3 separate regions of the Homo sapiens genome follow, and regions 1 and 2 are each linked to region 3. The links are contacts of gene promoters, found by promoter capture Hi-C in blood cells and fetal thymus (Javierre and others, 2016). All regions are on one chromosome and are shown on one strand. Each heading gives the region's core, a stretch centred on a gene start or on the middle of the fragment in contact. The rest is flanking DNA. Distances are from core to core; before and after follow the strand shown. Region 1 holds the start of RAN (RAN, member RAS oncogene family). Region 2 has its middle 43 kb from the start of LINC02414. Region 3 holds the start of SLC15A4 (solute carrier family 15 member 4).

Region 1 (3,306 bases), core at 37-2,536, 2.0 Mb after region 3:
CAGCAGGCCGGTTGTCGCCTGCTTTGTGCCTAATTTGCGTCACTGGGGTTCCTAGCGGACTCGCCTGCAAGTGTGCTCAGGACTGCAGGGAGGACTCTTCGGTCACTGCGGCTCTCTCCCCATGGTGGACTCTTCTGAGGCGCTTGACTGCGCTGATTTGGGCCTTTATCTGTCTGCATGTCGGCAGGGGCGCCCAGGAAGTCGGGTCCCTCTAGCTCAAGCTTGTTTGGGCTCTTACAGCTTCAGGCCAACAGGGGGCTGGGAAGCTGAGCACTTACTCATTCCGTCCCCGTTGGTAACTAGGGCTGGTAGACGCGTCCAGACTGCAAACAGTATTTCATCATTTTGTCTGTAGCATGCAGCGGCCAAAGCTGCCAACCTATGAAACGCTTTGAGAAGCCGGACGCTTTGGGAGGCCGAGGCGGGTGGATCCCCTGAGGCCAGCCTGGGAGACATAGTTAGATTCTGTCTCTCAAAAAAATTTTTAAAAAATTACCCCTGATGTGGTGCGCGCCTGTAGTCCCAGCTACTCGGGAGGCTGAGGCGGGAGGATCGCCCGAGCCTGAGAGTTCGAGACCAGCCTGGGCAACGTAGCGAGACTCCGTCTCTTAAAAAAAATAAGTAGCCGTTTTTCTGGGTGGGTGCATCCCTCTCTGGTTCCTCGCTCTCCAACTGGCCCTGGTCCTGGGGGCGTGAAGGCTACGATCTGGAGAGACAGAACAGCGGGCTGCCTCTGGAGGACGGGCCTAGACCCCATTCATTCATTCATTCGTTCTGTCACCCACCCGTCCTGCGCGCACGCGAGCCACCCTAAGCCCCAGGACCTCAAGAACCCCCACCCCACGGGGCACAGACAAGGACAGGCTGGCCAGCGCCTGGAAGCCGCGTGCCTGACCACGTCTGCCCGAGCGAGTACCGCCTCCCACCCGGGAGGCAGGAGAGCCGCGACCGTCGGGCCGCGCCCAACGTCTCCCGCTCAGGGGCGCGCCGCCTCGCTTTCAGCGCATGCGCGCCCGGGAGCCCGCCCGGGGCGTCGGCGCACGCGGTCCCCACCGGCCGGCTTGCGTACGCGCTCCCGGCTCGCCCTCCCACGCGGTCCACCGCGCCTCCCGCCCCACCCTAAGCGCAGCGACCGCCCGAGCGGCCGACCGAACCGCGTTGCGTGCGTGCGCGCACGCGCGGGCCACGTGGGCGGGCGCCGCGCCGTTGCCCCGCCCCTTGCAACCCCGCCCCGCGCCGGCCCCGCCCCTGCTCTCGCGCCGGCGTCGGCTGCGTCTCCGGCGTTTGAATTGCGCTTCCGCCATCTTTCCAGCCTCAGTCGGACGGGCGCGGAGACGCTTCTGGAAGGTATCGCGACCCGGCGGGCCCGGCACGGCCGGGCGGGGACAGGGGTGGCGGCGGCGGGATAGGGGTCGGAGCCGGGGCCAGGGCCGGGGCGGGTGGCGGACCCAGGGGCAGCGGGCGGCTGAGTAGGTGGGTGGTGCGGGCCCGGCCGGGCCGGGGCAGGAGACGGGCGTGGGGTCGGCGCTAGCCCCCGCGAACCCCCGTTTCATCCTCCGCTCTCATCCCCGTCCCGGTCCCAGTCCCGTTCCCATCCCTACACCTCCGGCCGCCGTTCCCCGGGCCCCGCCGCCCCGGATGCCGGCCCCGCCCGCCGCCTTCCCGCTCCCAGGCCTGGCCGCCATGGCGCCGCGGGCGGGAGGCCTTTGTGGGGCGGGCACGTGGGGCGCTGGGGGCGCGGGAGCGGGGCCGCCATGGGCTGCGGGGCCGCGCGAGCGCTCGCCTCCGTCCTCTGCCTCCGCAGGAACGCCGCGATGGCTGCGCAGGGAGAGCCCCAGGTCCAGTTCAAAGTAGGTAACCCTGCGGGGCGGGAGGCGGCCGAGCCCGACCGCGTGCGACTCGCGGGTCCCTCCTCCTGGGGCCACGATGGCTGTAATGGGGCCCCGCATCCACATTCTTTGTTTTAAGTGAGCCTGTGGTGGTTAAAGTTCCGTGACTCTGGGATCTTGAGAGGTGAAGTGTTTAGGGTTTACTTCCAAAATGTGTTTTTCAACAGCTTGTATTGGTTGGTGATGGTGGTACTGGAAAAACGACCTTCGTGAAACGTCATTTGACTGGTGAATTTGAGAAGAAGTATGTAGGTATGTGCTGGAAAACCTTGCTTGTGGAAATATGTGAGAAATGGGTAAGTTCATCCACTCAATCGCATCGTTTCCGTTTCAGCCACCTTGGGTGTTGAGGTTCATCCCCTAGTGTTCCACACCAACAGAGGACCTATTAAGTTCAATGTATGGGACACAGCCGGCCAGGAGAAATTCGGTGGACTGAGAGATGGCTATTATATCCAAGGTAGGCATTTGTAACTTGCTGAACGGTTTTTGAGAGGTTTTGTGTACTTCAGTCTTCAAGGTTATAGAAAATCAGGTCTGTTCCAACAAATAGTGTCATTTTTGGGTTAAAAAAAGACAAGTGGACTTCGGGGAGTTGACCACCATTTTGGTGGCAGAGAAAATTTTATTAAAGTTGTGTCATTTGCATGCTGTGTCATGCTAGGCATGCTTTAGAAAAAACTATGACTTACACTGGGACTTATAAGTCATATTTAAAACAATAATAGGCTGTTAACAGCAGTTTCAGTATTTGGAAACTTAGGTTCATGTATGTATTTTGGTGTGGTGATCAATGAATGTTTTTACTGTATTAGAAAACAATAAACACCAGATACTAGACCAGAGGAGATAGGAGATCTTAACAAGTGTTATACAAGACTAGCTGATTTCTTGTTAAATTGTTTGTACTAAGTTGTGCAGAGTATTTTTCTCAAATAGTTTGATTTAAAAATTGCAAGGAAAATGTTCATTGTACCAAAAAGAGGAATCAAGAAAATACTCATCTCTCTTGGAACCTCACGTTGCCGATAACACATTATCTGGAATCATTCCATGCCTTTTGCTTTCCTTGAGCATGTACAAATAAACACAAGAATTTCCCCCAAAAGAATCCTTTAACCAAAAAGTTGTGGTTTCTTGCCTTGCTAACTGTACCATAGTTATTCCTGCAGGTGAATATATAGGCTTTATCTGGGTTATTTATTTATTTAATTTTTTTTTGAGACAGGGTTTCGCTCTGTTGCCCAACCTGGAGTGCAGCTTCCGCCTCCTAAGCTCAAGCCATCCTCTTACCTCAGCATCCTGAGTAGCTTGGACTATAGGCACGTGCCACTATGCCTGACTAATTTTTGTATTTTTTTGTAGAGATGGGGATTCACCATGTTGCCCATGCTGGTCTGGAACTCATGAGCTCAGG
Region 2 (3,364 bases), core at 224-2,723, 2.8 Mb after region 3:
AGCCATCATTGGGCCTGTTAGCTGAGACACCTACTTGTGGCCTCTTCAAGGGCCTGAATTTGCCCACAGCCTGGAGGCTCAGTTCCAGGAGTGAGTTGGACCACTTCCAAGGAGCTCATCTGATTAAACCAAGAACACACAGGATAATCTCTATTTTGATCAACTCAAAATTAACTGATTAGCAACTATAATTACATCTGAAAAATTTCTTCTTTGCCAAAAAAACCATAACCTAATCACAAGAGTGAAATTTCATCCTATTCATAAGTCCTCCCACACTCAACAGAAGGGGATTTCACAGGGCATGTATACCAGGAAGCAGAAATTTTGGGGCCATGCTTCCTAGCCTGGATTCTTTCCTCCACAGCACTCCAGGGAAGATCTGGGAGCTCAGGCTCATTAAACGCAGGGTCTCACTTTCAGTCAGGCAAACAAGCAAGTGGTTACAGCCTCTTCCTGCTGCAGGAAAGACCCTGCTCCCATGCTCCAGTTCCCCGAGCCCACCCTCCTGACGGCCAGGGAAGCCTGCAGACAGGACTAAAGCCCGGGGTCTCCAACCCACACCCCCGCCTGCCTGGAGCTCTTACACTGCTGAGCCCGTCACAAAGCCCTGTGCCCTCCCGCCGTCCCACCGTGCCTCTCCACTCAGCACTGGCCAGCTCTGCGGGGGCCCAACACAGCTCACTGTGCAACTTTTCAGAAGGAAAGAAAAACAAATCCCAGTGAGATTCAGAGAACCTCAGCTGCGTTTAAGAATTCCTACTACACCATTCACTATGACATTCTGTCTCAGCCAAATATCCTGTTGCCAGGGAAGAAAAATTAAATTTTAAACACGAGCTGCAGAGTAGGTGTCGGTGGATGGCAAGCAACGGAAACCGCAAACAGGGCTGTGCATCGCCGTCAGCCCGAACTGCAGATTAATTGCTTCTGGTGGAGGAAGCAGCTTAGATCTAAACATCAACTCAGCTCCGACAGAGCCTCGCGGAAATCCAGAGCTGCCTCTGGGATCAGAATTTTGAGGACCTCTGCTCCCTGCACTTGGGAGAGTCTTAACACAAAGAACAAAAAAATTTAAAAGTCTGAGAGAAGAAGGAATAAACCCCACCTTCAGAATTTTCTTTGATTTTTAAAAAATTGTAGTGTTTAATCCTAGTTCATCCAAAATAAAAGTGAGAGAGGGGTTTTCTCTGCATATCAAAATGTCTAGAAGGCTCAAGAGAAAACATTGCTGTCGGTGGGCACTGAGAACCATTTGCTGACCCACCGGGAACCGGGACCTGTCACTCACAGCCACCCCACCGGGAACCGGGACCTGTCACTCACAGCCCTTCTGTTACTGGAAAGGGGTCCTGATCCAGACCCCAAGAGGGTTATTGGATCTCATGCAAGAAAGAATTCAAGGTGAATCCATCAGGTGAAAGGAAGTTTATTAATAAAGTGAAGGAATAAAAGAATGGCTCCTCCACAGGCAGAGTGGTAGTGGGGCTGCTCCACGAATGATAGTTTTTTCCTGACTATATGCTAAACAAGGGTGGATTATGGTCTAGAAGCCAGGAGAAGCCCTCGGTTCTGGAAACTGCCCACCCCTTTCCCAGAAGACTCATGATTATTTATGGCATTTGTAAACCGTCATGGCGCTGATGAGCAGTAAGGATGACCCCAGAGGTCACTCATTGCCATCTTGGTTTTGGAGGGATTTGGCCGGCATCTTTACTGCAATCGGTTTCATCAGCTGGGTTTGTGACCTGTGTCTTGTGCCGACCTTCTGTCTCATCCTGTGACTTAGAATGCCTAACCTGCTGGGAATGCAGCCCAGTAGGTCTCAGCCTGATCTTACTCAGCCCCTGTTCAAGATGGAGTCATTCTGGTTCAAATGCCTCTGACACTTCCCTCACCTTTAACCCTGGAGAGGGTGATTCCCTCCTGACCCCACAGAGCCCAAGCTGAGTTCTACTTTGTTATTTTCAGAAGAGCAAACCTCAGAAACAAGAAAGCCCCTGCACCATCGACAATAATGTTTAAAAACCTCAACCCCAAGCAACTTCTTTTCATCCCCTTCTTTTCCCAGCAAGACTTTTTTAAGGTTCAAAAACAAGCGCAAAACAGCAGCAACAAAAAATCATCAAAATCCCCAGGGTTTTGGTTTTGTTTTGTTTTTCATTATTCTCCTGGAGCTTTCCCATATCTAATATTTTCCAACCTTTTCCTTAAGGACATTCCCCCAGGTTTCAGGACAGAAGCATCTCAACAGGTGTGGGAGGTCTTTTCTGCTAGAGAGTGTAATTTTGGAACTGTACTCACATTTCTTTCCAATCTGGGCCAAGGTCTAATTCAGACGCATAACTGAAAATCTGGGTCCACTAACAGTGCCTGTGATTGTCCAACGGGTTGTTCCTGCCCACTGCACAAATAAAGACCACGGCACTGCAGTCAAGAAAGAGTTTAATTGCCATGAGGCCGGCCACGCCATGTGGGAGATGGAGTTATTACTCAAATCGACCTCCCCAAAAATTCATAGATTGGGGTTTTTAAGGATAATTTGGTGGGTAGAGGGTTGGCAAGTGGGGACTGCTGACTGGTAGGGTCAGAGATGAAATCATAGAAAGTCAAAGCTGTCATCTTGCACTGAGTCAGTTCCTGGGTAGGGGCCACAAGACCAAATGAGCCAGTTTATTTTTCTGGGTGGAGTCAGCTGGTGCATCAGAATGCAAGGTCTGCAAAATATCTGAAGCCCTGATCTCAGGTTTTACGACAGTGACTCTGTACCGTAATTTCTAATCTTCTAATTCGTAAGTCAAGTCCCTAGGCAAGGAGGGGTTTTGTTTTGGGAAAGAGCTGTTATCATCTTTGTTTCAAAGTTAAACTAAGTTCCTTCCAAAGTAAGCTCAGCCTACGCCCAGGAATGAACAAGGACAGCTTGGAGGTGAGAAGCAAGATGGAGTCGGTTAGGTCAGATCTGTTTCACCGCCATAATTTCCTCAGTTCTAATTTTTGCAGAGGCGGTTTCATGCCCAGACAGAGAAACGTCTGACATCGTTGTGCAACCCTAGAATACTGTTGTGAAACTGTTCTTGTGCCCCATTTACCAACTGCACAAATTCACCAACTTTTTCAGACAATAGTCGTCTCTCAGTATCCTCGGGAGGTTGGTTCTGAGGCTCCCATGGATACCAAAATCTGAAGATGCTCAAGTCCCTTATATAAAATGGTGTGTTATTTGCATATAACCTAGGCACATCCTCCTGTATACATTAAATTGTCTCTGCATTCCTTATAATACTCAAGATAACACAAATACCGTGCCAATAGTTGTTATCACTGCTTTTTTATTTACTTTTGATTGTTGTATTGTTATTTTTAT
Region 3 (3,254 bases), core at 530-3,029:
GTGGCCACGTCCTTGCCCCTCCTGAAGAGCTGCAGTGGTTCCTCCCTCACTTCTTGGCAGTTACAGTTGCAGGGGAGCAGCTTGATGCTAACTTGATTCAAACTCATTTTCATCTGAGCTTTCCGACCCAACCTAGCCCGTAACTCCTTTAAAGCCACGAAGACGCAATATGAGTGTTTTCCCACTTCTTTGTAAAGGAAGCTAAGGCAACAACGGGGGCTTCCCCTTCCCTCAGCTTCCTGGCCCAGGGCCCTGCACCTGCGAATCCCCATGTCTGGAAAGCTCCTCAAACAACTGCTCTTTCCTAGCCTTCTGGTCTGAACTTACAGGGCCTGAACATAGAAGGGTCCCGTTCATTTATTTTTTATTTATTTATTTATTTTTATTTGGAGACAGAGTCTCGCTCTGTCGCTCAGGCTGGAGGAGTGGAGTGGCGCGATCTCGGCTCATCGCACCTCTGCCTCCCGGGTGCAAGCGATTCTCCTGCCTCAGCCTCCCGACTAGCTGAGAGAACAGGTGCCCGCCACCACGCTCGGCTAATTTTTGTATTTTTAGCCAGGCTGGTCAGGCTGGTCTCGAACTCCTGACCTTAGGTGATCCACCCACCTCGGCCTCCCAAAGTGTTGGGATTACAGGCGTGAGCCACTGCGCTCAGCGTATTTTTTAAATTTTATTTATTTATTTTTTTGAGGTGGGGTCTCACTCTGTTACCCAAGCTAGAGTGCACTGGTGTGACCCTAGCTCACTGCAGCCTCCGAAACTCGTAGGCTCAAGGAATCCTCCTTTCTCTGCTAGGACTACAGGTGTGCGCCTCCACGGAGGGCAAATTTTTAAATTTTGGTAGAGATGAGGTCTCACTGTGTTGCCCAACCTGGTCTCAAAGTCCTGGGCTCAAGAGATCCTCCCGCCTCGGCCTCCCAAAGTGCTGGAATTACAGGCGTGAGCCACCGCGCCCGGCCTCTCTTTTCTTTAAAGCCACTGTGGCCATCACTGTGTGTGTAGACCTCACCCCGCCCCAGGCAAACCCCTTCCAGCACCCATCACACCGGTACCTCCAGTCTTGGCCCACCTGCTGGCGGGATTCCTCGGCACTAGACAGAAGCCCCCCGGGGCAAGGGGCTCCCTCCGCGGTCAGAGGCAGGGACTGGGGCAGGGGAAGAGGCTGGGGCTGGGCAGGGGCTGGACAGGGACAGGGACAGCGCGCGGGGGCGCGGCTCACCTGGTCGGCGCCGAAGGGCGTGATGTTGGCCTTGACGGTGGCCACGCCCAGGCCCACCAGCACCAGCCCCGCGAAGGTGGCCGGTGAGCAGCAGCGGGCGGCGGCGTCGGGACCAGGCGCCGTGCAGTTGAGCAGGCGCGCGGAACCGCAGAGCGCGGCTCGCGTGGCGGGCGCGGCCAGCAGCGGGAAGGCCAGCATGCCCAGCAGGTAGAGCGCCAGGCTCAGCAGGATGGCGCGCGCCCGGCCCAGCCGCGCGTCGGCCAGCCAGCCTCCGAACGGCGAGCCCAGGTAGGTGAGGCCCATGAAGAGCAGCAGCGCCTCGCTGGCCTGCGCGCCCTCCCAGCAGAACGGCGCCCCGTTCAGGAATAGCACCAGGTTGGACGTGATGCCGTAGAAAGCGGCGCGCTCCAGCAGCTCCGTCAGCAGCACGGCCCCGCACGCCGCGCGCCGGCCCGCGAACGCCCCAGCCGCCGCCGCGGCCGCCGCCGCCCGCCGCGCGCCCAGCAGCGGCGCCCGCTCGCCCGCACCGCCCCCAGAGCCCTCCATGCGACGCCGCCAGCTGCCTCGCCCCGCCGCCGGGTCACCTGTCCCAGAACCCAGGGCCGCCGCCCTTCTCGCGAGACTGCCGGGCCTGAGATGTCCCTATTGGGCGGGCTCGCCGCTGCTCAACGCCCCACTCGCCGGAACTTCCGGCCCCGCCCCGGGCACTAGGCGAGGAGGTGGCCGGTATTCTGGATCACTGCGTGTCTTGGGGAGCTTGGGATTCCGCAGCTTGGCGGCCGAGAGCCTTTGTTTGCCTTTTTGAGACAGGGTTTCCCTCTCTCGCCCAGGCTGGAGCGCAGTCATGCGGTTACGCCTCACTGCAGCCTCAGCTTCCCAGGATCAAGCGGCCCTCCCACCTCAGCCTCCCGGGTAGCTGGGACCGCAGGCGCTCGCCGCTGCCTGTGGCTAATTTTTAAACAGTTTTTTGAAATGGGGTCTCGCTTTGTTGCTCAGGTTGGTCTCGAACTCCTGGCATCAAGCGTTCCTCACGTCTCAGCCTCCCATAGTGTTGGAATTACGTGCATGAGCCACTGCAGGCAGTCGGACTAAGGGAGTTTAAACAAAGAAGCCGGAGCCTGGCCCTCTTCGGGCTTCGGTGGGGCCCAGTAGGCAGCCAAAACTCACACTGAGACGGCGGCTGCTCTCCAGGCGGGTTTGCTCAGGCTGCCCCCGTGCTCCCTGCCCTGGGCTTCAGTCCTGGAGAGGACCCGGTTTCTCAACCCGTGCATCGTTGGCACTTTGAGCGACGGGACTGTCCTGTGCGTTGCACGATGTTCAGCAGCAGCTTTGGCCTCTGCTATCCACTAGGGGCCAGTTCCACCCCCTAGCACCTCAGGTTAACAACCGAAAATGTCTTCTAGACTTTGCCGAAGGACTCCTGGGGGCAAATACGCCCCCATTGAGACTCACTGGCTTAGAACAAGGCAAGCTCCAGCCTGTTTCAGGCTTTCCCAGAGACTGCCCCTACACCATCTATGGTTGCATGGCTGGCTTCTCATCCTTCAACCTTCCACCGAAGTGTTGACTTCAGAGAAACATTTTTTTCACTAGCCTGTCCAAGGCCCGAGTATCCCATTCCATCATGTTACTCTTTTCTCCTTATTACCTGTTACATTTTTTAATTTATTCGTTTATCTCCCCAACCTGCATGTGTTAACAGGTGTAAGCTTCCTGATGGCAGGATTCTCTTGTGTTTTGTTCCTCACTGTGCCCCCTGCCTCTGGGACAGCGCCTGGCACATAGTGGAGTGAAAGAGTGCCGCCCAAAAATGGCCCTCAGCATGGCTTCAGAAATTGAGACCCCGGCCTGGGATGGTGGCTCACGTCTACAATCCCAGCACTTTGGGAGGCCGAGGCGGACGGATCACGAGGTCAAGAGATCGATACCATCCTGGCCAACATGGTGAAACCCCGTCTCTACTAAAAATACAAAAATTAGCTGGGCGTGGTGGCAGGCGCCTGTAGTCCCAGCTACTCAGGAGGCTGAGGCAGGA

The links. The method cuts DNA at HindIII sites, captures the fragments that hold promoters and counts their contacts. A CHiCAGO score of 5 or more calls a contact.
Region 1: a contact is called between the fragment with the promoter of RAN here and the fragment with the promoter of SLC15A4 in region 3, in 1 of 17 cell types (erythroblasts). The highest score is 5.4, in erythroblasts.
Region 2: a fragment that was not itself captured here is called in contact with the fragment with the promoter of SLC15A4 in region 3 in 1 of 17 cell types (monocytes); the score reaches 5.0 in monocytes.

Annotation. Positions count from the first base shown.
Region 1 is chr12:130,870,780-130,874,085 of GRCh38, forward strand. RAN (RAN, member RAS oncogene family) reads left to right here and starts at 1,287. Exons shown (of 7, transcript NM_006325.5): 1 at 1,287-1,347; 2 at 1,805-1,850; 3 at 2,057-2,141; 4 at 2,224-2,349. The coding sequence starts at 1,815. RefSeq lists enhancers at 327-1,088, 512-591, 1,089-1,850, 3,079-3,148 and silencers at 872-1,331, 1,402-1,541, 1,592-1,801. The HindIII fragment of the contact is 6,850 bases long and covers 220-3,306 here.
Region 2 is chr12:131,603,750-131,607,113 of GRCh38, forward strand. No RefSeq gene overlaps it. Among named protein-coding and RNA genes, the nearest start is that of LINC02414, 43 kb to the right of the region's middle. RefSeq lists an enhancer at 72-612. The HindIII fragment of the contact is 9,612 bases long and covers 1-3,364 here.
Region 3 is chr12:128,822,179-128,825,432 of GRCh38, forward strand. SLC15A4 (solute carrier family 15 member 4) reads right to left here and starts at 1,780. Exons shown (of 8, transcript NM_145648.4): 1 at 1,220-1,780. The coding sequence starts at 1,765. LOC124903083 (a long non-coding RNA gene) reads left to right here and starts at 1,766. Exons shown (of 2, transcript XR_007063602.1): 1 at 1,766-3,254. RefSeq lists enhancers at 1-50, 1,531-1,690. The HindIII fragment of the contact is 5,029 bases long and covers 1-2,926 here.